Linked DNA regions of Homo sapiens: regions 2, 3, 4, 5, 6 and 7 are each linked to region 1. The links are contacts of gene promoters, found by promoter capture Hi-C in blood cells and fetal thymus (Javierre and others, 2016). All regions are on one chromosome and are shown on one strand. The core of a region is centred on a gene start or on the middle of the fragment in contact, and the rest is flanking DNA. Distances in the headings are between cores, read along the strand shown.

Region 1 (3,589 bases), core at 285-2,784:
ATTAGGTATTAAGAAGTCCAGGCAAGGAATGAAGATTTTTCAAGAAGATTCACCATAAAGTGAGAAAAGAGGGAAGGTGCTAGCTAGAGGGAAGTTAAGATTGTTTTGGTTTTGCTTTTAAGAGCTGAGGGACTTGCACATATTTATAGGCTAAGGAGAGCTGACACCGAGGCTGATGCCTGGAATCCCAGCACTCTGGGAGACCAAGGTGTGTGGACCATTTGAGTTTAGGAGTTGGAGATCAGCCTGGGCAACATAGCAAAACCCGGTCTCTACAAAAAAAAAAAGAAAAAAAAAGAAAGAAAAAAAAATTAGCTGGGTGTGGTGGCGTGCGCCTGTAGTAGTCCCAGCCACTCAGGAGGCTGAGATGGGAAGATCACTTGAGGCTGGAAGGTTGAAGCTGCAATGAGCCATGATCATACCACAGCGAGACCCCGTCTCAAATAAAAATAAATAAATAAATAAATATAGGCTAAGGAGTAGAAGCAGGTGGATGTGGAAAGAATGAATAGGATAAGGCCCCTGGTGAGATGAACAAGGACAGGATCCCATGAACAAGGAACAAGGATCAGGATCAGGATCCCACAGGATCAACTTTAGACCAACCAAAAGAAAAAATGTGATTCCTTGAACCACATATATTTCACAGTATGGACTTCATCCGCTGTCTTTCATTACGGTTAAAATTACACCGCATTTCTAGTAATTCATGTTTGATGATGACAAAATACGTATCAGGCTACAGCTATCTGCAATCAGAATTGGGAACTTATCTGAACTGATCCTATAACGCACTGCCCACATTCTTCAAGAAATAGTAAGGTACCAGCCTCGATTCTTGCTTTTTCCCGCTCTTGCAGATGGACCAAATATCCACTGGGCCCTCAGTCCTGTTAATTGCCACACTAAACAGGGTATCCCAGAACGTATGCTACCCGAGAATGCTGCACTGTCCCACCTGTAAGCATTGTACTTGTGGATAGCTTGGCTCACGTTCTTCTCAAAGTTTGCGAGTTCTGAAAGGCAACAGAAGGCTCGGGTGAACAAGAACCACGAGTAAACAAACGAGAACTGTTTTCTGGAAGGGGATATGGCAGCCTCTAAGAGACAGTGACCACCCGTTTCCTCCAAGGGCCAGACCAAAAGCAGCCCAAGCGATGGCCCAGGTGTAGCCGGCAGGACTGACAACCAGCCAGGGGCGCCGGAGGGAGATCCCCACGGAAGACGACCCGCTGCAAGGAACCTACCCTACCCACTGGACTGTCGGTGTGGGAGAGAAGGAAGGCAGGGGAAGAGGCTGGAAGGAAAGAAGAAAGCCAGCGGGGCCCGGCCCGGTGCTAACCTGTGAGCATGTCGGTGATTCCCCCGTTGAGAGTCTCCTGCGGCGCCTTCCGTTTGCTCATGGCGGCCTGCACCCGAGAACCCCAGAGTGTTCAGAACCAGGGACTAGAGCCCTCTCCCAGCTTGAAGGAGGTACCAGGACTTGGAGACGGGAGCAGGAGCAACCCAGCTCCGGCGCGACCGGCGGAACAATGGTTGCCCCCGATGGGGGGCGGGGCGCACGGCGCTTGTTGTGACGTCACGCGTCCTGGGCGGGGCGGGGCGGGGCTAGAGGGGCGAGCCCTCGGCAGGTGAGGAGAGAGAACTCGGAGGGTTCGTGGACTCGTGGACGTGGACACGGCGCGGGGGAAATAGGCACCTCAGAATGACAGCCCAGGGGCCTTCCTATGGGAAGACCTGGAGTTTTGACCTAAGATATTAAATCTGTTTTCTCAGTGTTTATCTGGAATCCTTTCCCTAGAAGGGGAAACGGGAGTGCGATCTTGATTCTGAAATACTTGCGCTGGTGGGGTAGCTTCCTGCACAAAAATGTGCACTGTAATAGCTACCCAATGCATGGCGCGTTTTGTACGTGGTTAGAGGCGACACTGGCGTCACACTGTCAAAACTTTCTCTAAGGATACCGGGCAGTCCACACTCCAGTGCAGCCCCTTACGTACTAGGGCGCTGCCGGAGCCCGGCGTGAACCATGCCGAGAACAGGAATCCTCCCGCACACGTGTTAGTACACCTGCCAACCAGTGTCAAAAGATATTTTATTTTTAATCCCCCTGCCTTTGCGGTAGGGACCAAATTAATGAAGAGACCACAAGAAAGGGAGAAGTGTTTCATCTAGATCATGAGCAATGGAACCCTAATTATAACATGATGACCTACATCTGAGAAATTTACAGTCTGCTTGAGAAATGGAAATGTCACATCAGCAATAGTTTATTTTACAAGCGTAACTCCTGGGTTCATATCGAACTGCAATTCCAGGCAATTGCTTTGTGCATCGAAAAATTAAAATTTATTACAAAATGATACGTAGTTGCTGTAGAGAAATCTGGAAAAATGTATAAAAGGAGAAAATTAAAATCAGTGATCTCACCCTACAGCTGAACTATTAATATTTTGGGACGTACACTTCTAGTCTTCTAACCCAGTCTATTAAAAATTCCCATTATTTTCCAATAAATATCATTAGTTTCTTTGATTAGCAAGGTTGTGGTGATTGTGTTTCCTTACAATATCAGTGTATATCTTAAGTTATGCTTATTGGAAATCTGTAATTCTTCTTTTTTTGAATTTCCTATTCATATCATTTACCATTTTCCTAATGGGGGTAGTTTGTTACTAATCTGGTAGATCTTTTCTATATATTACTACTTGCCCTTTTATGGATAGCTTTTGTAAAAATTTTGTACATATTTGTATTTTCCTCAATTTATTACTTGAGGAATAAAAGTTAAAAAAACTTTATGCCTGCAACTTAACTATCTGATTAGTTAAGCTGCAGTGAGCAGTGACCACTCTCATTTACTCTTTATACTCTCATTTACATATATGACTTGTCCTAGTTTTCCCTGTTCACACTTTTTTCTGTCCAATCTCTATTCCAGGTGATATTCAGATTATTTTGCTCTGAAGAATTATTCCTCCTTAAATAAAAATGTATTTACCTCTGAATTTTAAAAGTTACAAATGTAGGGAATTGTGGGATCAGTTTTACAAATTTTTTTGTTTTGAGACAGAGTTTCACTCTTGTCCCGCAGGCCAGAGTGCAATGGCACGATCTCGGCTCACTGCAACCTCTGCCTCCCGGGTTCAAGTGATTCTCCTGCCTCAGCCTCCCGAGTAGCTGGGATTACAGGATCCTGCCACCATGCCCAGCTAATTTTTGTATTTTTAGTAGAGATGGGGTTTCACCATGTTGGCCAGGCTGGTCTCAAACCCCTGACCTCAAGTGATCCACCCGCCTTGGCCTATTAAAGTGCTAGATTACAGGCGTGAGCCACTGCACCTAGCCCATTTTTACAAATACTATATTTTTAAAATTAGTGCCAGAGAAACCAAGGAAAATAATCCATTATCTGTCCTTATCGTCTTAGAACAACCGACATTTGATCTGCTTCACAAAGTTCTTCTTGAAATAACTTGCTTCAATTGGCTTCTAAGATTCCACATGCTCTGGGCTTCCTTTTTCCTCACTGGCCAGTCCTCAGCAGGGTGTGTGTGTGCGCACATGTGCGCCTGAGCACTGGTTCCCA
Region 2 (3,589 bases), core at 752-3,251, 510 kb after region 1:
TGCTTTTGGGATGCACCCGTGTTGCTGTGTGAATCCATATTCGCTCCTTAGTAGCACTCCACTGTACGAGGTGCTGCGGTTGGTCTATTCATTCACACGCTGAGGACGTGTGGGTTGACTCCAGTCTGGGGCGGTGATAAATAAAAATAAAGCTGCTCTGCAAATTTGGGTACAGGTACCTTCTTAATGGTCCTTCCTTCCTTCCTTCCTTTTCTTTCCTTTCATTCCTTTTTTCTTTTTCTTCTTCTTTTTTTTTTTTTTTTGACAGACTTTTGCTCTGCACTGGAGTGCAATGGCGCAATCTTGGCTCACTTGTAACCTCCAATTCCTGGGTTCAAGCAATCCTTCTGCCTCAGTTTCCCGAGTAGCTGGAACTACAGGCATGTGCCTCCACACCCCACCAATTTTTGTAGTTTTAGTAGAGATGGGGTTTCACCATGTTTTCCAGGCTGGTCTTGAACTTTTGACTTCAAGTGATCCGCCCACCTTGGCCTCCCAAAGTGCTGGGATTACATGCATGAGCCACCATGCCCGGCAAACATGGGTTTTCATTTATCAGGTAAATACCCAGGAGTGGGATTGCTGGGTCATGTGCAAAGTATGTTACTGTTAGAAGAAGAAACTCTTGGGGCTTGAGGTATGAGCGCCCGCAGCTGCCCACACTTTTCAGATGATAGCCCCAGATTGCTGAGGGGCTTTCGGTTTTACAGATGGGGAAATGGAGGCCTTGAGAGGTCAGATGACGAGTCCATAGTTTTAAGGAAGGTCGTCGTCAAGGTCCAGGCGGAGCCTCGTCTCCTGTCTCCCAGGCCGCTGTGCTTTCGTCTGTATCTCAGTTCCCTTCATCATCTGTTGCTGCAAGCTTATTCTCATGGGATCCGTTTATGGGACACATTGGGCCACCAACAATTAGCCTCTCCATGCACTGATAAGGAATGTGACCAAAAAGATTAATCCATTTGGTGAGGTGACCAAGTGATTATGTAAACAGCCGTGTTGATGAACAGAATCTATCTTCAAAGGTTATGACAGTATTATACACACAGCCCTCACGCTGGGCATTTGGCTTGATGGAGCTGTCTGCAAAATTATTCTTCAATGATTCATCTACCAAATTATTCTTCTCAGACCTTTTCAAGCAGAACCGACACAGAACTGGTGTCTGCGTTTCTTTGGCACTGGGTAGGTAGGAGCTGTTTGCTTTTCTTACTCGCTTCTGACTCCCTTTGCCTTGGGATTTGGGTCCTATCCCCGAAAGCCCTAGTCCCAGACAACCTTTTCTTTACCTGCTTCAAGCTTAGAATCAAGAGAGCAGTTCCTGACACTCCCTGGGAATCTTGGCTTTACCACAATTCTAGCTTTTGAACATTTCAATGGAGGATTAATTGTTATTCATGCTGTCATTGTTATGTAGGTCATTTTTTCTTTGGATCAAGTTGACGGGATTTTATCATCTGTGGAAAGCAGCCATATACCAGAATGAAGAATACTTTTGATTGATGATTTAGCTTAAAAATAGTTTCCTCTTTTAATAAGCCTCATTCGGGAACAAATGACCCCAGAGGGAAACTGGGTGCTTATCTAGTAGCCTATGTATTTTGCAGAGAATTTCTAGAAATGTGTGTATTTTGAAGAAAAGAAGAGGGGCTTTGGCTGTTTGGTCCTGGAGATGGGTCTAGGAGCCTGGGGTGGGGGCATCTATTGGTCTCTCCTAGCTGACCCCTGCCCAGAGAACTGCAGTGCCCCTTGCCCAAATAAAAGGTATGCCCGAGTGGCTGAGTGGGTGTTTCTAGTTGGATTACTGCAGGCTCAACATTAGATTCACCAAATCATTATTTAGTACTTGCTCTGTGCTGGGCAAAATTTCATTGATGTTATCGGAGGAATATCTAGGCAAAGAGAGGAGACCTCACTTATAAAAACTAAAGGCCTTGTCACGTCAGATTTTTTTTTTTTTTTTTTTTTTTGAGACAGAGTCTCGCTCTGTCGCCCAGGCTGGAGTGCAGTGGGGCGATCTCGGCTCACTGCAAGTTCAGCCTCCTGGGTTCAAGCCATTCTCCTGCCTCAGCCTCCCAAGTAGCTGGGACTACAGGCGCCCGCCACCACGCCCGGCTAATTTTTTGTATTTTTAGTAGAGACGGGGTTTCACCGTGTTAGCCAGGACGGTCTCGATCTCTTGACCTCGTGATCTGCCTGCCTCGGCCTCCCAAAGTGCTGGGATTACAGGCATGAACCACTGCGCCCGGCCCAGATTTCTTTTTAAAAGGCAGTTAGGGATGGCAGTCTTAGACAATGAGCTCCCCTAGTGCCCTTCCAATGGAGAAGCACAACGAGAATCTAATTTGTAAATACCAGGTCTTACACGGTGAGTGGGACTAGGAGAAGGCATCGACTGCACGCTGGGGTCAGTTGCCTGGGAGCGAATCCAGCTCCACTCCCTGCTGTGGCCTTGAGCAAGTAGCACTTAACCTCTCTGAGCCTCTTTCTGCATCTGAAAAATGGGATTGGTCATAAGGTTGCGATGGGCATGTGCCCCCTGAGAAACATCAGTAAGGTGGCAAGGGTGGCGAAGACGCTGTTCCTCGGGTTTTGTTCCAGCGACGAAAGCTAAGTTCATCAAGCCACAAGAAGAAATCTCAGATTTTTTTTCCCCCTAGGAAATGTGAAAATTGAAGGTTTCCTTTGAAGCCTTGTGGCAGAAGCTTCTGAAAGCCGAGTCACAGATCTTGCACAGTGCTGTCCCAAACGCCGCTGATGTGCAAACGGTGGCCCCCGTCCCCGTAGGGAGGCCAGAATGGGACAGCAGAGATTGCGGCAGGGTGTCCGGTGAGCAGGGGACCCTCACGGACCGGTCTAGACGCGAGACTAGGATTTATTTATTAATTCTTTCAACTGCGGCGGTGGAATCAAGATGGCCTAGAGGGCGCCAGGGGGCGCTCTGGAGAGGACGGGCGGCAGATCCGAATGGGCCCCGAGGAGGGCGGCGCCCCGGGTCACGCGCGACTTCTGCGGAACCCGCCTTTGCCGCGCAGTTTTCGGGATTCGCGGGAAGAAGGCGCAGCCTCCCAGGCCCAACTCTCTCCCCAGCACTTTCGCGTGGAAAATCTTCAGGAAAATGAAATGTAGCTCCCCGTATGCCCTCTCCCCAAAGATGTAAAGGACTCTGGAGCGGGCGCGAGGAGCAGTTCCTGTTTCATTACGAGCGCCCCCTCTCCAGCCCGGTCATTGTAGTGCGAACCAGAACAATCAAATTAACAGAGGCACTCAGGAGCCTTTTAGTGCTACTGTTCCAGGAACTGAAGAGGCCTCGGTATGGGAATCCCCACAGAGTAATAAACAGCACGTGGTTGGAGCGCCGAGGAGGAGACTCGCTCCACCTGGTGGCGGTGATGTCCTCTCGGAGGAGGTGGCAGGACACAGAGGCTGGCGGCCACAGACGGGATCTGTAATTCAGTGCCCGCCATCACGTACCTCGGCCTGGCCCTGTGCAGCTTGGAAGCTGGAGACGGAGAAGGTGGAAAATGAGAGTTCATGGAGTGTCGGGCCTAAGCTGAAGGAGGCGGCGCTGCACGCACAGACGAAGGAAGGC
Region 3 (3,589 bases), core at 558-3,057, 470 kb before region 1:
TACAGAAGATTCCATACAATTATATCATTTATACAAATTTTATGCAAAACAATACCAGTGTTGCTTAGTGATACATACATATGGACAACAATTATAAACAAATGTGTTGGGATGATAAACATATAATTCAAAGTACCGGATACTTTTGAGTAGGAGGGAGATGCAATTAGGGAGGAGTATGCAGGAGATTTCAAACTTCATTAATAATATTTTATTTCTTGGCCAGGAGCGGTGGCTCACACATGTAATCCCAGCACTTTGGGAGGCCGAGGTGGGCGGTTCACTTGAGGTCAGCAGTTCGAGACCAGCCTGGCTAACATGGCGAACCCTCGTCTCTACCAAAAATACAAAAATTAGCCGGGCATGGTGGCATGAGCCTATAGTTCCAGCTACTCGGGAAGCTGAGGTGGAAGAATCACTTGAACCGGGGAGGCGGAGGTTGCAGTGAGCCGAGATCGCGCCACTGCACTCCAGTCTCCTGGGCGACAGAACGAGACTCCGTCTCAAAACAAAACAAAACAAAACAAACAAAAAACATCATAAATGTCAATGCGCACACCACCCAGCTTTAGAAATAATTTCCTCTGTCGCCCAGGAGGCAGTGGCGCGATCTCGGCTCACTGCAGCCTCCGCCTCCCAAGAGTTCAAGCGATTCTCTGCTGCAGCCTCCCGACTAGCTGGAAATACAGACGTGTGCCACCAGGCTAATTTTTAAAAATTATTTTCACAACAACCTCTGGTTCTAATATACCACATCTTATTCAGAATTTTTTCATTGCAAGGAACAGCCAGTAGGTGGCAGGGGAAGCTTGGTATTTGCTGTGTCTGACAAAACAACCTTCCCCCCAACCCGCAATCACATAAACGTAAGGCTTCCTTTAAAGTCACTGATCACATGTCACTTTCCAAAATAAAATGAATTAGCTAAAACCATTGCTTTCCTTATTCATGAATATTTGCATTCTGGTATTCATTGTTCCTAATAGTAACACTATGATCTTTTGAAACATTATTAAACTTTCCAGTGGGGCAACTGGTTTTTATCCCCTGGTGCCACTACAGCAATGCTTCTGTGAAACAGGCTGCCACCGCAGGTTCCGACAACAGGGTTATTGCAGCATGTGCATGGGGGTGCAGTGGGGGAGTGGGACTGCAAAAACGGCAGCCATCTCATGCCTGAGTTCCTACCCATCTCGCTGACCTTGGGTGCAGACCGTCAGGCACATTGCTGAAATCTGCTTTCACACTCACTCCTAAGAACGTTCTTATTTTCTATGGGGGGTGAGGGAGGTGGCAAATGCCACATAAATATCTTGCTTTATGTAGAGCAACTAAGCAATACAGACTAGCTCAGCAAAATGATCTGTCTGCATATTTTCCTAAATAAAACAGCAACCGAAGACATCTTCTATTTTCTGCTTAGGGCCGAATTAGAAAATTATTGCAGGCCGGGTGCGGTGGCTCACGTCTGGAATCCCAGTACTTTGGGAGACCGAGGCGGGCCGATCACTCGAGGTCAGGAGCTCAAGACCATCCTGGCCAACATGGTGAAACCCCACCTCTACTAAAAATACAAAAATTAGCCAGGCATGGTGGTGCATACCTGTAATCCTAGCTACTTGGAGGCTGAGGCATCAGAATCATTTGAACCTGGAAAGCAGAGGCTGCAGTGAGCTGAGATCACGCCACTGCATTCCAGCCTGGGCCACAGAGTGAAACTCCATCTCAGGAAAAAAAGAAAAGAAAAGAAAGGAAAATTATTGTGGGTCATGGTCTGAATCTGGCCGGCGGATGTATTTTGTGGGGCTACTGCCATTTGAAGTGTGTTTTTAATTGGTCAAAATTAAAAATTCAGGAGAGATCACATAGAATTAAGATTTTAGGTTTCTCTTAAAAAAAAAAAAAAGCAAAACATATTCTGGCAATGCCTTTCCATGGGGCCCAGTGAGCAGGAACAGAGCCAGGCTGACCCTGCCTCTGGAAGGGGAATATGTGGCTGTCTCACCCAGGCCTTGCACTCCTGGCTATCTGTTGTTTTGCCCTGACAAAGACTCTCCTTATCCAAACTCTGGCCAGGCTCCTCTGAGCCCTTTCTCCACTGGACCTCAATGTTGGCCTAGCAAGAGTTGAGCAAAACACTGACCCAGTTTCTAGCAGCTTAAAGCCACTTCTCTAGGATGTCCCCAGAGGAAAAATGCCTGCCTGAGGAAACTCAAGCTGCCAAAAGAATTACTGACTCCCAACCTCGGTGGGGGCATAGGAGCCTAACTTGGGTAACACTAGGCCCTCATTCCTGCTTTTCATAACTTTTCACTTCCCTCAGTCTACTGAGCCCCTGCTCACTCACTTCACTGCTCCCTCATTCTCTCTTTAAAAACTCCCAGTCACCTCTGTACAAATCGAGGTTGAGCTCAATTCATGCTAGACTCTCTCTGTTACTGAACCACCAGGGTTTCAGTCTCCGTCCTGCCGCAAGCTGCACAGAAAGCCAATGAACTGGGACCACCAGTAATGCCAAGGAAGAAGGCGTTAATCCAGTGCTATGGCCGAGGAGATGGGGACTCAGCCTCAAATCCATCTCCCTGACCCACTAAAACTAGGGGTTTCTATAGCAGGGAGGGAATGTAACAATGTGTAAGAAAACAGGAACTTGGGAGGGCCAAGGAGGCAATCATGATGAATGAAGGGTCCAACTCATTGTCAGGATGTGGTGATCTGGTGAGTTTCAGTTCCCTGATACTTTTTTTGAGCAGCCTGAAGGTCCATTCCTGAGGAAAGAACTCAGATAAAACAAACGTAAGCTTCAAGCTTTAAGACCAGAAGGGTCCATTTCTGTGTCTATCCAAAAAAAACTGGCTGGGTGCGGTGGCCCGCGCCTGTAATCCCAGCACTTTGGGAGGCCGAGATGGGTGGATCATGAGGTCAGAAGTTCAAGACCAGCCTGGCCAAGATGGTGAAACCCTGTCTCTACTAAAAATACAAAAATTAGCCGGGCGTGGTGGTGGGCGCTTGTAATCCCAGCTACTCAGTAGGCTGAGGCAGAGAATTGCTTGAACCTGGGAGGCAGAGGTTGCAGTGAGCTGAGATCGCGCCACTGTTCTCCAGCCTGGGCAACAGAGCAAGACTCCATCTCAAATCCCCCCCTACCCCAACCAACTTAAATGTCAATAAGACTTTTTTTTTTTTTTTAAAAAACAAGGTTGTGCTCTGTTACCTAGGCTGGAGTACAGTGGTGTAATCGTAGCTCACTATAGCCTCGACCTCCTGGACTCAAGCGATCCTCCCACCACAGCCTTCTGAATAGCTGGGACTACAGGTGTGCATCACCACACGTGGCTAAGTTTTTTATTTTTATTTTTATTTTATTTTGAGACGGAGTTTCGCTCTTGTTGCCCAGGCTGGAGTGCAATGGTGCAATCTCAGCTGACTGCAACCTCTGCCTTCCAGGTTCAAGCGATTCTCCTGCATCAGCCCCCCGAGTAACTGGGATTACAGGCACCCACCACCACGTCCAGGTAATTTTTGTGTATTTTTAGTAGAGATGGGGTTTTGCTATGTTGGCCAAGCTGTTCTCGAACTCCTGACCTCA
Region 4 (3,589 bases), core at 663-3,162, 410 kb after region 1:
CTAGGCTGGAGTGCAGTGGCGCTATCACAGCTCACTGCAGCCTTGACCTCGTGGGCTCAAGTGATCCTCCCACCTCAGCCTTTCCAAATGCTATAGTTTTCTTTGTAAATGAAGGTTAATAAAGCAGTTGTAGTCAATTACATCAAAATGATTGAATTTGATCATAGTTTTCCAAAGAAAATGAAAACATTGACAAAGAGACAGTGATTAAGGCTTTACTAATAAAGGCAAGGACTTCTTGCAAATGGGATAATTACATGATTTCAAAGAAGTTTGTCTTACCTCCTGTTTAGAGAAAACAGCTAAAATTAACTAGAACTAACCTGACATTCTCAAAGGATGATTGAAAGCTGTAAATCTGAAAGCTGAATAATATGTATTATTGCAAGAACAACTTTAAAAGGTCAGGGAAGTAGTTCAATTAAAAGAACAGAGGAATACAAAGCAAAGCAGACTCAAGCCAGCTACTGCCACTCACCTTTGCTGAGTCTCAGCACAGGGATCTCAGGTTGCAGTGCTGCTGCTATCAGGCAACTCCCCGCTCCGTGGGGTCTGCCTTGCTGCCAGCGGACTGCCATCTAAACTGCTTTCCTCTGCAGCCTCAGGTGTCACACGAAGACATGAAAATGCCCATGCAATAAGATGGACTTGGTTCCCTTACATCTTTTTTAAACCCCTTGTTATTGTGAAAATAAAGCACATACAGAAAAGTCAATAAAACACATATAGCTGAATGCATTTGTCTAAAGTGAATACCTCTCTAAAAATAAATCAGGCTGCAAAATAGAACTGCAGCTCAGTAGTCCCTCCACTGTGGCTTGGAGGGCCCTTCCTAAGCACAGTCTACCCTCCCAAGCGGAAATGATCACCATCCAGGCTTAGGCGGTAAATCTTTTTCTTGTATCTTACTACCTAGGTGTGCATTCTTAAGCATCATAGCTTCACTCTATCTTGTTTTGAAGCTTACAGAAATGGAATCATACAGTTTGCATCTGGCTTCCCTCAACATGTTCGTGAGATTTGTTTATGAAGTTGGACGTTGCTGTAGTTCATTTATTTTCACTGCTGTATAATATTATATGACTACAAAAAATGTATACATTCTAAAGTTGACAAATATGTAGGTTTCAGTTTGGTTTATTACCAATGATACTGCTGTGTTTAATCCCACATACATCTGGTGCACATTTGCAGACATTGCTCATAGGTATGCTCCTAAAAGGTGAATTGCTGGATGATCAGGCAGGTGTAACTCCAGCTGTACCACCTAACGCCAGACTCAAAAGTAACCATTCCGTTTCTTGTTGTTGGCCCCCATTAGCCGTGTATGAAAGTTCTTGTTATTCCACATTCTTGTCAATACTTGATATTTTCAAATATTTCAATTTCTGCCAGTCTGGTGTGTGTGTAGTGGAATCTCTGTGATTTTCTTTTGCATTTCTCTGATTACTAATGAAGTTGAGTACCTTTTCATATGCTTAGTGGCTATTTGAGATTCCTCATTTGTGAAGAGTGTGTTTAAGTCTTGTGCCTGGATCGTTATTGAATTGCCTTTTTCTTATTGATTTATAGGAGTACTTTATATACTTTGAATAAGAGTCTTTGGTCAGTTACTTATGTCACACGTATCTTCTGCCATTCTGGGACTTGCCCTTTCACTTTAAGGGTATCTTTTGATGAACATAAGTTTTTAGTGTGTTCCAAGTTCAGTAGTATCTTCCTTTATGGGTAGTGCTTTTTTCTGTGTGGGTTGGGAAATCTTTCCCTACTCTGAGATTATAATGGTTTTATCTGATATTCTCTAGTTTCTAACAGCTTATTTTGCTTACATTGTTAAATCTTTAAAGTATCTGAAATTGATTTTTGTTCATGGCATGAGGTAGGGACCAGTTTCATCTTTTCCCCATGTGGAGACACGGTTCTGACAGCACTATTTCTTTCTCCACTGCTCTATGTCAAGTGTCCATATACGCATCAGCCTATTTCTGGACGATTTATTCTGCTTCATTGATCTCTATGTCTATTCTGGTTTGATTACTGTAGCTACAAAATAAATCTTCATATTAAGTAAAGCAAGTCCTCCTCCTAAGTTGTTTTTCTTCTCAGAAGTGATTGACCCTTCTAGGCTTTGTGCATGTCCATATATTTTTAGAATTAACGTATTAGATTCCTAAATGATCATAATGACATTTTATTTTGATTGCATTTATTCTAAAAATCAATTTAATGAAAATTGACAACAGTATTGATTCTTCCATTCACCGAACATTATATCATTTTTTCTTTTTTTGGTCTTACGGCACTGGCTCAGTACAGTGTTGAAGTCATTAGAGCAGGCATACCCTTAATCACATGAAGGAATATCCATTCAATTCCTAGTTTCCTAAGAGTTTTTATCATAAAAGGATGTTGAATTTTATCAAACACTTTTTCTGCATTATTGGAAAGGCATGATTTTTTTCTCTCATACACACATGCATTGCATACACTTAAACACAAGACAATTTCATATCAATTAGGAAGGGATAAATGGAGTTAAAGTGCTTCAACGTCTTTCAATGTCTTGATTAATATTACTGAGAAATTAAAGATACTTTTTTTGAAAGATGCATATTTTAATTTCCAGGGTAATCACTAAAAGAACAGAAACAGTGTGTAATTCCAAAATAATACAAGGAGAAAATGGAATGATAAAATGTGAAAAATAATCTGAAAGAAGGGAACAAAGGAGAGAAAAGACACAAGTAAATAGAAAAGACATTATAAATAGACTTAAACCCAAATATATCAGTAATTAAGTGATTTGTAAATGGACTAAATATTCCATTTAAATGACACAGATTATTAGAAAAATAAAGCTTAAAAACCTTATATGCTGTTGATAAGAGAAACATCAAAAACATAAGAAAAACATAAGTTAAAAAAATAGAAAAACTATGTTAGGAAATCACTAACAAAAGAAAGCATTAGTATAGGTATATTAATATGAGACAAAATAGAATTTAAGGCAAAAAGGATTACCAAAATAAAGAGGGTTAAAAATGGTAAAAGTTTTAATTCATCAGGAAGGTATAAAAATTCTAAATTCATATGGCCTTATTAATGTGATCCTAAAATATATAAAGCAAAAATGGGCAAAACTATAATGAGAGAAAAATCATAGAGGGAGGTTTTCTTAAAAAAAATTAATGTACTTGATTTACTAGACCAGTTTTAGGTTTACAGCAAAATTGAGTAGAAAGTACAAAATGTTCCTTGTCCCCACACATGTACAGCCTCCCCGATTATTGACATCCTCCTCCACAGTGGTACATTTGTTACAATTGATCTACATTGATACATCATTATCACCCAAAGTCTGTAGTTGACATTAGAGCTCAGTCTTCGTGTTGTACATTCTGTGGCTTTCCCCAAATGTATGATGACGTGTCCACCATCATACAGAATAGTTTGACTCCCCTAAAAATTTTCTGCCTAGTCATCCCTCCCCACTATTCCTTGGCAACCCCTAATCTTATTACTGTTTTCATAGATTTGTCTTTTTCAGAATGTCATATAATTGGAATCATACAGCATGTGACCTTTCAGA
Region 5 (3,589 bases), core at 381-2,880, 390 kb after region 1:
TTAAAAGGAATATCTCACAGAGATCTGTTTAATAGTAAATCTTGATGATGATGATGATGATGATGATGATGTGTGACCTCTGCTCTGTGATTCTCTATTGCTGTTAGTAGCGCTCTTGATCCTCAGTTCTGTGGTTTTCGTGCCAAGTATTAATTGAGTACTTGCTTATGTGCCGTTTACTTACTGTAACAGTAAAATTTCAGATTGTCAGGATCCCCTCAGTCTCTCACTTTTCTTGGTCCTCCCTAAGACTCTTTTAAGTGATCAGTAGAGGAGTTCTTTACCTTGGGAGAAGCTGGGGTAGGTGTGGTATATACTGTTTGAAGAGAATATTAAACTACCTGGGTTGTTGAGGAGTTCTGTTAGTATCGCAGACAGTGTCTTGGGAGCTAATGTGGGCATCCATTGGCGTTTTGATAGAAAGCTCTGGCAACTCCATGAACACAGACAAGGCTGCCAGGAGCAAAAGAGCAGCAGAGTGCTCCTGGGCCTGGCCAACCTGGAGCCTCATTTACCACATGATTGCTTGAGGAACCCGCTTGGTGCTTCTGCGTGGCAATAGTTAGTACCCCCTTAAGTAGTTTTATCTGGGTTCAAGCCCGATCATGGTAGTCAGATTGCATTGCTTCAGGCAGCTGGCATAGATTAGACTACATAGTTACATCTTCTTTTACCTAATAAATGTATTTTAGAAGGGTTGTATTTAGATCTTTTGTTGTGTTAAGTACTTTGAAAACGAAACTTGCTATCTAAAGGATTGCTACAATTCATCTTTTTATTAAAGCAAAAATTGCTCTTTTAAAACCAGATTATCACTTCCTTATCTGGCTGTTCCTGCTATGTTGAAGGTATGAGGTTTTATATATTTGGTTGTCTTAAAACAGCAGATAGCATAATACTGCCATTTCAAAGGATGGCTTCCAGGTTCCAAAGTGTTCTGGTCATGGACACCTTCTCCTAGTCTGGACTGTGGATATCTAGAGATGCTTTTAACTGATACATATTATTCTAGAACTAAAGAGACCCTCTACTGACTGTTTTGTTCTGTTTATTTCTCTAGGTTGATGGGAATGTGAGTACCATTTATTGTCAAAACCTGTGTCTTTTGGCAAAGTTGTTTCTTGACCACAAAACCCTCTATTACGATGTGGAGCCATTTCTTTTTTATGTACTAACACAGAATGATGTCAAGGGCTGCCACCTTGTTGGCTACTTTTCTAAGGTAAGTATGTCAGCTTAAAGTTTGTTTGAACTCATATAGAAATCTGAAAGAATCTTTGCTGGTTCTCACTCGGGGACACAACAAGATGCAGCACCTCCTAGGTGTCATCTAGCTGTTTGGAAAGAATAGAAGGAACATTTGGAAACTTACCAGGTGCTAGAAGGTGCTTAGTAACATTCAACAACCTATATTCTCCTAGGATTATGGACTGCTGGCAATACTCACGGGGAAGGTTTTAAATGGCTTCTCTTCCCATGGTAATAACATGGAACTTCTGAAATAAACAGTCATTAGCTCTCTGAGTTCTGTCTCAGCTTCAATCTTCTCTTCCTTATTTGAACTTTAGGCATAGAAATAAGAGTAAGAAGGCATTTTGGTTAAAGGATATTTTCTCCTTTTTTAATCTTCCATTCCCTTAGAGGGAGAAAGTTTATTTCTAGTCAGAGAACATAAAAGATATACTTTTATTTAAGCAAGCCTGTGGTAAAATCCAAGTGTATAAAACAGTTAGGGGAAGTACTAGCTTTTTATAAGCATTTATAAGAATTCTTTAGGCTACTTCATTAGTTAGATGTGACTTAAAATATATTCACTCATTTATAAAATTATAAAAGTGACTATTTTGTGTAAAGTTAGATACAACTAATAGGACTGCTCTGAGGAGCACCAGAGCAGGAGAGAAAGAAAACTCTGACATAATTAATGAGTCTTCTCACTTCTAGAGTGGCACACTGATTCATCATTTGTAGCTTTACGGATTGTTTGGGACTCAGATTCCGGTGCTGATCCTTAGGCATTGGCGTACTGTGTTTGAGTTGCAGATGGTGTTGGATGGCATTGTTTTGTTATATATTTTTACTCTCCTGGGATGGTTGCTTTGTGGGTAATGGCAGTGACTTGACATTATCCTATCTTCTCCCAGCTGGGTAGTTGTTTGTTGATGTACGTTGCTATTCCCAAAGGACCAGGGCTGTGGGTTTTGGCCATTAGTCTTTGTTTCTTAATTCACGTTATTATTCACTTTTACCAGCCTGTTTTCAAACTTGACTTGTGTTTTCTCCACCAGGAAAAGCACTGCCAACAGAAGTACAATGTTTCCTGTATAATGATTCTTCCTCAATACCAGCGTAAGGGCTATGGCAGGTTTCTCATCGATTTCAGTAAGGATTATATTAATTTCTCATTGGTCTTTTCCAGTGGACCTTCTCTGTGTGTGTGTGTGTGTGTGTGTGTGTGTGTGTGTGTGTGTGTGTGTGTATATATATATATTTAAAGATTTGTAGGTGCTTTGTTGGCTGCTAGTATCTTTTGTCATATAGCTATATGATTCTTTAAAACCTAAAGCCACTGCTGGACACTGTGGCTCATACCTCTAATCCCAGCACTTTGGGAAACTGGGGTGGGAGGATTGCTTGAGCCCAGTAGTTCAAGACCAGCTTAGGCAACATGGCAAGACCCTGTCTCTACAAAAAATTTAAAAAGTTAGGTGGGCATGATGGCATGTACCTAGGGTTCCACCTACTCAGGAAGCAGAGGTGAGAGGATCACTTGAGTGCCCAGGAGGTTGAAGCTGCAGTGAGCAATGCTACCCCTGCATTGCAGGCCCTAGCCTGGGCCACAGAGCAAGACTCTGTCTCAAAATAAAAATGGAAATAAATAAAACCTAAAGCCACACGTTCCTTTTATTTTGGTTGGACACGAATTTTTTTTTTTTTTTTTGAGAGACAGAGTCTCGCTCTGTCACCCAGGCTGGAGTGCAGTGGCGTGATCTCGGCTCACTGCAAGCTCTGCCTCCTGGGTTCAGGCTATTCTTCTGCCTCAGCCTCCCGAGTAGCTGGGACTACAGGCACCAGCCACCACAACCCGGCTAATTTTTTTGTATTTTTACTAGAGACGGGGTTTTACCGTGTTAGCCAGGATGGTCTCGATCTCCTGACCTCGTGATCCACCCGCCTTGGCCTCCCAAAGTACTGGGATTACAGGCGTGAGCCACCATGCGTGGCCTTGGACACGAAATATTTTTAAACAGCTAATATTGAATAAAATTTTGTGTGATGTGTAGCACATACCTTTAATTTCCTATTGTTCATTTACAATGGAACTCAGTTTCATGCAGTAATACTAATAATACTAAAAACATTGTATAACTACTTCAATTAGAGCTAATAAGGAAGTACTGTGGGCCGGGTGTGGTGGCTCACTCCTGTAATCCCAACACTTTGGGAGGCCAAAGTGGGCAGATCATGAGGTCGGGAGTTTGAGACCAGCCTGCCCAACATGGTGAAACCTCGTCTCTACTAAAAATACAAAAAATTAGCTGGGTGTGGTGGTGGGCGCCTGTAATCCCAGCTACTTGGGAGGCTGAGG
Region 6 (3,589 bases), core at 573-3,072, 370 kb after region 1:
GGCTTATCAGATGGAGTAAACAACATTAACTTCAGCTTTGAGGAAGCAATGACTACTATACAGGAGTCCCCGCGTATCCACCAGTGATACGCTCCAAGATCCCCAGTAGATGCCTGAAACCGTGGACTGTACTGAACCCTGTATGTACTGTATTGTGTTACATGAATGTAGTCTGTCTCTCTCTAAATCTCTTATTGTACTATTGTACTGTACTAACTCTTCTGACGGTGTGAGATGATAAAATTTGCACCGAGGCTGACGACAGGTAACTAGAACCTCGAAAAGCAAAGCTGGGGATAAGGGGAGACTACTATAAATAATTCCAGCTGGAGGGCAAAGACGTATTATCTGTGTATTCCAAGAACCTGCCACTGAGATAGCAAGCAGAAGCTCACATTTATTTGGCACTCACTGCATGAATGGCATAGTGCTGTAAGTTCTGTGCAAATATCAACTCGTTTAAGCTTTTCAACAAATCTGATAGTGACTTGCCCAACTAAGGTGATTCAGCCGAGATAGGATTTGAACTGTGCTAGCCTTTTCTAGTTCCCAGGCTCTTAACTACTATTTTAATAAGTTGTGCTAAATTATCCAATGAACTAAAAATACATCTATGCGGCCTTTAATATGTGACTTATATTTAATGGGTAAATGCCTTAACACAGTAAACATCGCCCCACCTACCATTCCTACTTTCAGCAGCATCAAGGAGACATCACTTAACAGCAAAAAGATGTCATGGGGGTACCTTAAAATCCCGTCATGCCGAAACTGACATCTTGTTACTAGCTTTCAAAATGCTCCAAAATGCAGCTTAATACTAGTAATTCAGTGTATTACCATTGCCCAACAGATGTTCCACCCTGTCTTATCTCAAACTAAACTCCAGCTATTCCTCACTTTGCATGGTGCAATGTTAACTGAAACCCATGCTTATCAAACTAAAGTAGATTGAAGGAACAGGAGATGATCAAAGATGACTTCCAGGTTCTCTGACGCTGTAATAAAAAAAGTGGTTTGAAGCCAGTTGGGAAAGTTCATCTTGGCTAGATAAGAGGATGTTTTGAATAATAAAAAGACTCATAAAGGTAATGCAGAAAGTCATTTTTGAGGGCATAGATACAGCTTAGAAACTGCTTCACCTGTGTTAGGGTTGGCAAAATATGGCCTGTGGCCCAGTCCCATCCACAGCCTGTTTTGTATGACCTGCAAGCTGAGGATGGTTTTAATATTTTTAAACAGTTGGACAAAAATAAAAAGAATAATATTTATGGACATGTGAAAATTATGTGAAAAATGTTAGCGTTCGTAAATAAAGTTTTATTACAACATACAAAAAACCCATGCATATCAGAACTAAGGTCAAATCTGTCACCTCAGAAGCACGGACACAATTCTGATGTGTACCTGTTTCCATTAACACAGTGCCATCAAAAACAAGGACTGCCTGTCTTACAACACCTTTATGGGCAGATACTGTGTTTTCTATATCATCTCCACAGTGTGACTTGCATGTAGTAGGTCCTCAAATATTTGTTGATCTGATGGGCCAATAATCACCCTATCTCCTGTATTTACAGTAATCCCCCTTTTATCTGTGGTTTTGCTTTCCATGGTTTCAGTTACCCTTGGCTTGCCAAGGTCTGAATTTTATTATCATCGTCTCCTCCTCCTCATCATCATCAGAAGGGTGCATACCATGCAATAGGATATTTTGAGAGAGACCACATTCACGTAACTGTTATTACAGTACATCGTTTTAATTGTTCTGTTTTTAGTTATTGTTGTTAATCTCTTACTGTGCCTAATTTATAAATTAAATATCATGGGTATGGATGAATAGGAAAAAACATAGTATATACAGGTTGACTATCCCTTATCCAAAATGCTTGGGACCAGAAGTGTTTTGGATTTTGATTTTTTTTTTTTTTTTTTTTCAGATTTTGGAATATTTGCATCATATGCTTAGCCGTCGAGCATCCTGAATTCAAAATCTGCAGTGTTCTTACGAGCATTTCGTTTGAGTATCATTAGTGCTCAAAACGTTTCAGATTTTGGAGCATTTCAGGTTTCAGATTTTCAGATTAGGGATACTCAACTTGTATAACATTTAATACTATCTGCAGTTTTCAGGTATTCACTGTAGGTTTTGGAAAGGTGTATTCCCAGTGGGTGGATAAGGGGGACTATTGAATAAACAAGTAATTAAAGCCATGTGGTTAGTAATAGATACCCTCTTATTATATGTAAAATACTATATTCAGCATTATATATTAATTTGTTTCATTTAATACAACTTTATTATTAATTACTTGGCCTCATCTTACAAATGAAGAAATGGAAACATTAGAAGGATTGTTTTACCTAGAGTTATAAATTGTTAAGTTTCAGAGTCAATATTTGAACCCTGGTATTCTGACTCCATGGCCTTAACTGCTTAATTTATGATATAGTATTACTGTGGAGATATGCATAAATTGCAGTGAGAATGAACAGGAAGACATCTAGGGATGTTATTGTTCTATTTTTAGTTATTGTGGTTAACTAAAATTTTAAGTCTTTGTAGAGGAGGTGACATTTGTGTAGGGTGCTGAAGGGATGAGTAAGTTTACTATTGGAGAAGAGTGAGAAGGCATTTCTAGTAGCAAGTTTGGGTGTGAGAAATCGTGTATTCTCGGAGCTGTGTGCAGTTGGTTGGAGTTCAAACAAGAGATGATATTGGAGGGGTACTAGATCATGAAGATTTTGTGTTTCATATTAAGGAGTTTGTACTTAATCTTGCAGGTAAAGTAGCTCTTTAAAGTAGTTAAGTAGTAGCTAAATAGCTCTTGAGGAACTGCTAAAGAATTTCTAAAAAGTGGATGACATCATATTTGTATTTTAGAAACTCAAGTCTGGTGATATTGTCAGCAATGGATTGAGGAACACCTGAGCAAGGGACCAGTCAGATGATTACAGTAGTCAAAATGAAAAGTGACTGGGGCCTAAATGAAGGTAGAAGAGATAGATAGGAGACAGAGATAGATAATCGTTTTGAGAAAGACTTAAGATAGAATGGAAAAGACTGCTGTTGGATTGGGAGTTAGGATTGAAGGAGAGGGCAGAACCAAGTAGGTCTTCTAGTGTTCTATTTGGAGTAGATGATGGTATTACATGTAGGAATATAGGAAAAGAAGCTTATTTAGATGGAAGAAGAGACCATGCTTACACAGTTGTGGGATTGTGTGAAATCTAAAGTGGAGAACTTTGGTAGATGGTTGTGTACATGTATATACAGGAGACCTTGGGTGGGAGATTTGCTGTGTTACCAGCACATGTGATTGTTTAAAATTTTTATCAAAGATAATATTTATCTAATAATAAATATTACTAAATACTGGCTACCATGTTCCAAGCACTAGAGATTTAGCAGTGAACAAAACATTAAATAAAAAATGTCTTCCTCTTGGGAGCTTACAGTTTAGTTTGGGTTGGAATGGGTTAAAATAAATGGTATGCCATGTGGTAGTGTTATGGAGAAAAAGCAGGGGAGGAAGAGGGAGAATTCAGAGGGAGAGGATTAATGTATGCAGTATTAAATTGGTCAGGT
Region 7 (3,589 bases), core at 899-3,398, 350 kb after region 1:
TTAAAAAAATGTACAGGATGTATTCTTTTTTCTGTTCTTTCAATATAGTTTGTGATATTCATCCATGTTGTTGGCAGCATTTGTTTATTTTTATTACTGTTTAACATTCTACTGTATGAATACAGCACAGTTTATCTGTTTAACCACCTAATTATTTGGGTAAATTTTGTTTGAATAAAATGTATTATTATGAATAATGCTGCTCTGAACATTTTGGTGTATGTTTTATTAATATGTACTTCAATTGTGTATATAGCTAGGAGTGGAAGTGCTGGATCATGTGGTATGGACATGTTCAATTTTAGTAGATAACGTCAACATTTTCAAATTGGTCTTGTCAATTTATATTTATATTCCTGTCAGCAGTGCATGTGTTGTTCCACCTTTTTTTTTTTTTTTTTTTTTTTTTGAGACGGAGTCTCGCCCTGTCACCCAGGCTGGAGTGCAATGGCACAATCTTGGCTCACTGCAACCTCTGCCTCCCAGGTTCAAATGATTCTTCTGCCTCAGCCTCCTGACTAGCTGGGATTACAGATGCCCGCCACCATGCCCAGCTAATTTTTTGTGTGTTTTTAGTAGAGACGGGGTTTTACCATGTTGGCCAGGCTGGTCTTGAACTCCTGACCTTGTGATCCGCCCGCCTTGGCCTGCCAAAGTGCTGGGATTACAGGTGTGAGCCACTGCACTTGGCTGTTGTTCCACTTTTTAATCAACCCTTAATATCAGTGGTCTTCATAATTTTAGCCATTCTCGAAAGTCTATTTTCTTGGTGACTAATGAGGTTGAACATCTTTCCTTATGTTTGTTGGCCTTTCATGTGTTATTCATGTATTTTCTGTGGGAAAGTACCTGTGGAAGTCTTTGCCATCTCTGTTGAACTGTCCGCCTCTTCCTTACTGCAATGTAAAAAGTTCTTTATGCTGGATATGGGCCATTTGTTGGTTAAATTTGTTGTTAATGTCTTACATTCTGTGGCTTGCCTTTTCATTTTCTTAGTGCTGTCTTCCCAGTCTCTTGTCTTCCTTACTATGCTTCTCTCCCCAAAGCAATTAGCCATCAAGTCCTGACAATTTTATCTTTTAATATCTTTTATCTTCTTTTCTCCATTTCTTTGCTCAGCGCCTTAATACAGTCCTTCTTTGCTCATGGCCTGGATTATAGATCACATCCCTTGCAATCAGTTTTTAACTGCTTACAGAATGACTTTTCTAAAATTTAAATCTTGGCCGTACTATTCCTCTGCCTAAAATCTCCCAGTTGTACCTTAGAGGCTACAGAATAAAGCTCAAATCTCATGACTGGCTTCTACCTTCTTCCTAGGCCTTCTTTAGAGTTGTTGGGTTTTTTTTTTTCCCCAGATTTTTACTGCTGGATAAAGTCTTTCCTGACTTACTTCCCCAGTTCTTTTTTCATACTCCTTTTTGAGGAAAGGATGTGGTAGTCTTAATTATGATTAAGCCATAATTATTAAGACAACTAGCCGTTCATCTCTCAGTCTCTTGGCTGAGCACTACTGTTAGCTTATTTGTGTTGGATGTTTTGATATTGGTGTTCCACCCAACTCTCTCATTAATCTGTTTGCTTTTCTGGCTTATTCTCTGCCAGCCACTTAATTATTGGTATTCTCACCTTAGCTCTCTTCTTCATACCTTTCTCCGTGAGAAAACTCATCAATTCTGATGGCTTTAATGCCATTTTGTATGTATATGACTTCTAGATTTTTAAATCCAGACCAGTCTCTGTCTTAAATTTCAGATCTCTCTGTATTATATTGTCAGTGGGTATTGCTACATGAATGTTACATAAGTATTTTTTATTTTTTATTTTAGTTATGTTATGTTACGTCACGTCACGTCACGTCACGTCACGTCACGTTACGTTATGTTATTTTTCCGAGATGGACTCTTGCTCTTGTCACCCAGGCTGGAGTGCAATGGTGCGATCTCGGCTCACTACAACCTCTACCTCCCGGGTTCAAGCGATTCTTCTGCTTCAGTCTCCCGAGTAGCTGGGATTACAGATGCATGTCACCACGCCTGGCTAATTTTTGTATTTTTAATAGAGACAGGGTTTCACCATGTTGGCCATGCTGGTCTCAAACTCCTGACCTCAGGTGATCCGCCCGCCTCGGCCTCCCAAAGTGCTGGGATTACAAGCGTGAGCCACTGTGCCCGGCTACATAAGCATTTTTAAGCTCAGTAAGCCCCAAACTAAGCTCACCTTCCCTTCCCAAACCTGATTGTGTATTTTCTACCTTTTTGAACACCTTTTTGAACCTGGTGGGGCTGCCTGTTAAATACTTCTGGAAAAACTTAAGTCAAAGGGTACTTTTGTGAAAGTACCTCCTTCCCCACTTTCCTCCTGTTTTCTATTACTATAGTTCTATCATGGTACCTACAAACATTTTATTGTACTTTATCTGTTCTCCCCAGTAGACTAAAAGCATCTCGATACTTTGTCCTTGGGGAAGCAAGCAAATCAATGAACCAATGAATGAATGCATCTTGAGGGTTTTCCATTGCCATCCTGCACAGTGCCTAGCATAAACAGTTGAGAGGTGACTGAGGGTACCTCCAACTAAACACATTTAAAATGGAACTCACCAGTTTCCTCCAAATTGCTTTCCTCCAAACTTTCTGCTTTAAAATGACTTGCTGTGCACAGTTGATAGCGTCACCATCTTTTCAGTTCACTTAGTCATATTTAACTCACTTTGTTTTTCTGCTACTCTCAAAACTGGTTTTAAGCCCATTGCTATTTCTTCTATTTCATTTCCTTAGCTTTGGTTCAAGTTCTCATCTTGTCTTCACCAGATCATTGTAACCACTGTTTAAATGTTTTACCTATCTTTGGAGTTTTCCCCGTTTGTCTTTGATATTGCTACAATAATTATTTTTCTCCAAGTGATTATCTCCTGGTTCTGTAAACTTGCCTATAGGATAAAGTCCAATTTTAAAAAAATTTATTTTCGTTTTAAAGCTGTATTTAGGTATAATTGATATATAAAAAGCAAATATTTAATGTATACATTTTAATGAGTTTGAGAGTCCAACTTCTTTACCTTCGGTGGCAGTCTTCACGAACTTATCTAGCTTCTTTCTTTTATTTTTTTTCCCCTCCCTTATAGCAGAAGCTATGTGCTTTAAGCATTGGCCTTACCAGACTGCACACCTAAGTCTATGCTACTTATACTACCTCTATTGCCTTCTCTCCATCACTCTTAGGAGGAACATAGATTAAACAAACCACTCTTAACATTTGTTAGCTACTGTCCTTGGACAAGTTTCTAAAGATCCCAAAACATAATACTGATGCTTAGTACATGTTGTTTTCCCCTTTCAACCTTTCCCTTCCTCCACACCACAGTTGGAATTTCTTTTTCGTACTGCTAGAAAACACTTACTGTTTCTCTCACTTAATGTCTTCTGCCGAGGAGTCACTGTGTCTGTTTACTTGTATATATCTTACTGCTCTTGTACTAGATCACATGCTTTTTCAGCGCTTACACTGTGTCTTCTTGAACTTATTCCAGTTGAATTTTTCAATCTTAAGGGTTTGCTTTTTAAAATCCACACTGTATCATTTAGGT

Evidence for each region. Contacts are between HindIII fragments. The CHiCAGO score rates a contact against its expected background, and 5 or more counts as called.
Region 2: a fragment that was not itself captured here is called in contact with the fragment with the promoter of POLB in region 1 in 1 of 17 cell types (naive CD4 T cells); the score reaches 5.1 in naive CD4 T cells.
Region 3: a fragment that was not itself captured here is called in contact with the fragment with the promoter of POLB in region 1 in 1 of 17 cell types (erythroblasts); the score reaches 5.3 in erythroblasts.
Region 4: a contact is called between a fragment that was not itself captured here and the fragment with the promoter of POLB in region 1, in 2 of 17 cell types (naive CD4 T cells and total CD4 T cells). The highest score is 5.7, in naive CD4 T cells.
Region 5: a fragment that was not itself captured here is called in contact with the fragment with the promoter of POLB in region 1 in 7 of 17 cell types (naive B cells, total CD8 T cells, naive CD4 T cells and 4 more); the score reaches 9.5 in naive B cells.
Region 6: a fragment that was not itself captured here is called in contact with the fragment with the promoter of POLB in region 1 in 12 of 17 cell types (naive B cells, non-activated CD4 T cells, total CD4 T cells and 9 more); the score reaches 9.1 in naive B cells.
Region 7: a contact is called between a fragment that was not itself captured here and the fragment with the promoter of POLB in region 1, in 6 of 17 cell types (activated CD4 T cells, total CD4 T cells, naive CD4 T cells and 3 more). The highest score is 9.6, in activated CD4 T cells.

The regions. Positions count from the first base shown.
Region 1 is chr8:42,336,439-42,340,027 of GRCh38, reverse strand. It overlaps POLB (DNA polymerase beta), which reads right to left and starts at 1,534. Exons shown (of 14, transcript NM_002690.3): 1 at 1,343-1,534; 2 at 959-1,016. The coding sequence starts at 1,403. The HindIII fragment of the contact is 11,887 bases long and covers 1-3,589 here.
Region 2 is chr8:41,828,314-41,831,902 of GRCh38, reverse strand. It overlaps a transcript of ANK1 not described here. Among named protein-coding and RNA genes, the nearest start is that of ANK1, 32 kb to the right of the region's middle. RefSeq lists enhancers at 3,018-3,589, 3,518-3,589, 3,364-3,589. The HindIII fragment of the contact is 1,406 bases long and covers 1,299-2,704 here.
Region 3 is chr8:42,802,643-42,806,231 of GRCh38, reverse strand. No RefSeq gene overlaps it. Among named protein-coding and RNA genes, the nearest start is that of CHRNA6, 36 kb to the right of the region's middle. RefSeq lists an enhancer at 2,116-2,275. The HindIII fragment of the contact is 1,993 bases long and covers 811-2,803 here.
Region 4 is chr8:41,922,899-41,926,487 of GRCh38, reverse strand. No RefSeq gene overlaps it. Among named protein-coding and RNA genes, the nearest start is that of KAT6A-AS1, 130 kb to the left of the region's middle. The HindIII fragment of the contact is 1,896 bases long and covers 965-2,860 here.
Region 5 is chr8:41,945,384-41,948,972 of GRCh38, reverse strand. It overlaps KAT6A (lysine acetyltransferase 6A), which reads left to right. Exons shown (of 17, transcript NM_006766.5): 11 at 1,061-1,222; 12 at 2,289-2,382. Among named protein-coding and RNA genes, the nearest start is that of KAT6A-AS1, 100 kb to the left of the region's middle. The HindIII fragment of the contact is 4,864 bases long and covers 1-3,589 here.
Region 6 is chr8:41,962,976-41,966,564 of GRCh38, reverse strand. All of the region lies in intron 8 of KAT6A (lysine acetyltransferase 6A), which reads left to right. Among named protein-coding and RNA genes, the nearest start is that of KAT6A-AS1, 87 kb to the left of the region's middle. The HindIII fragment of the contact is 2,712 bases long and covers 467-3,178 here.
Region 7 is chr8:41,987,815-41,991,403 of GRCh38, reverse strand. The region is part of intron 2 of KAT6A (lysine acetyltransferase 6A); the gene reads left to right. Among named protein-coding and RNA genes, the nearest start is that of KAT6A-AS1, 62 kb to the left of the region's middle. The HindIII fragment of the contact is 9,711 bases long and covers 1-3,589 here.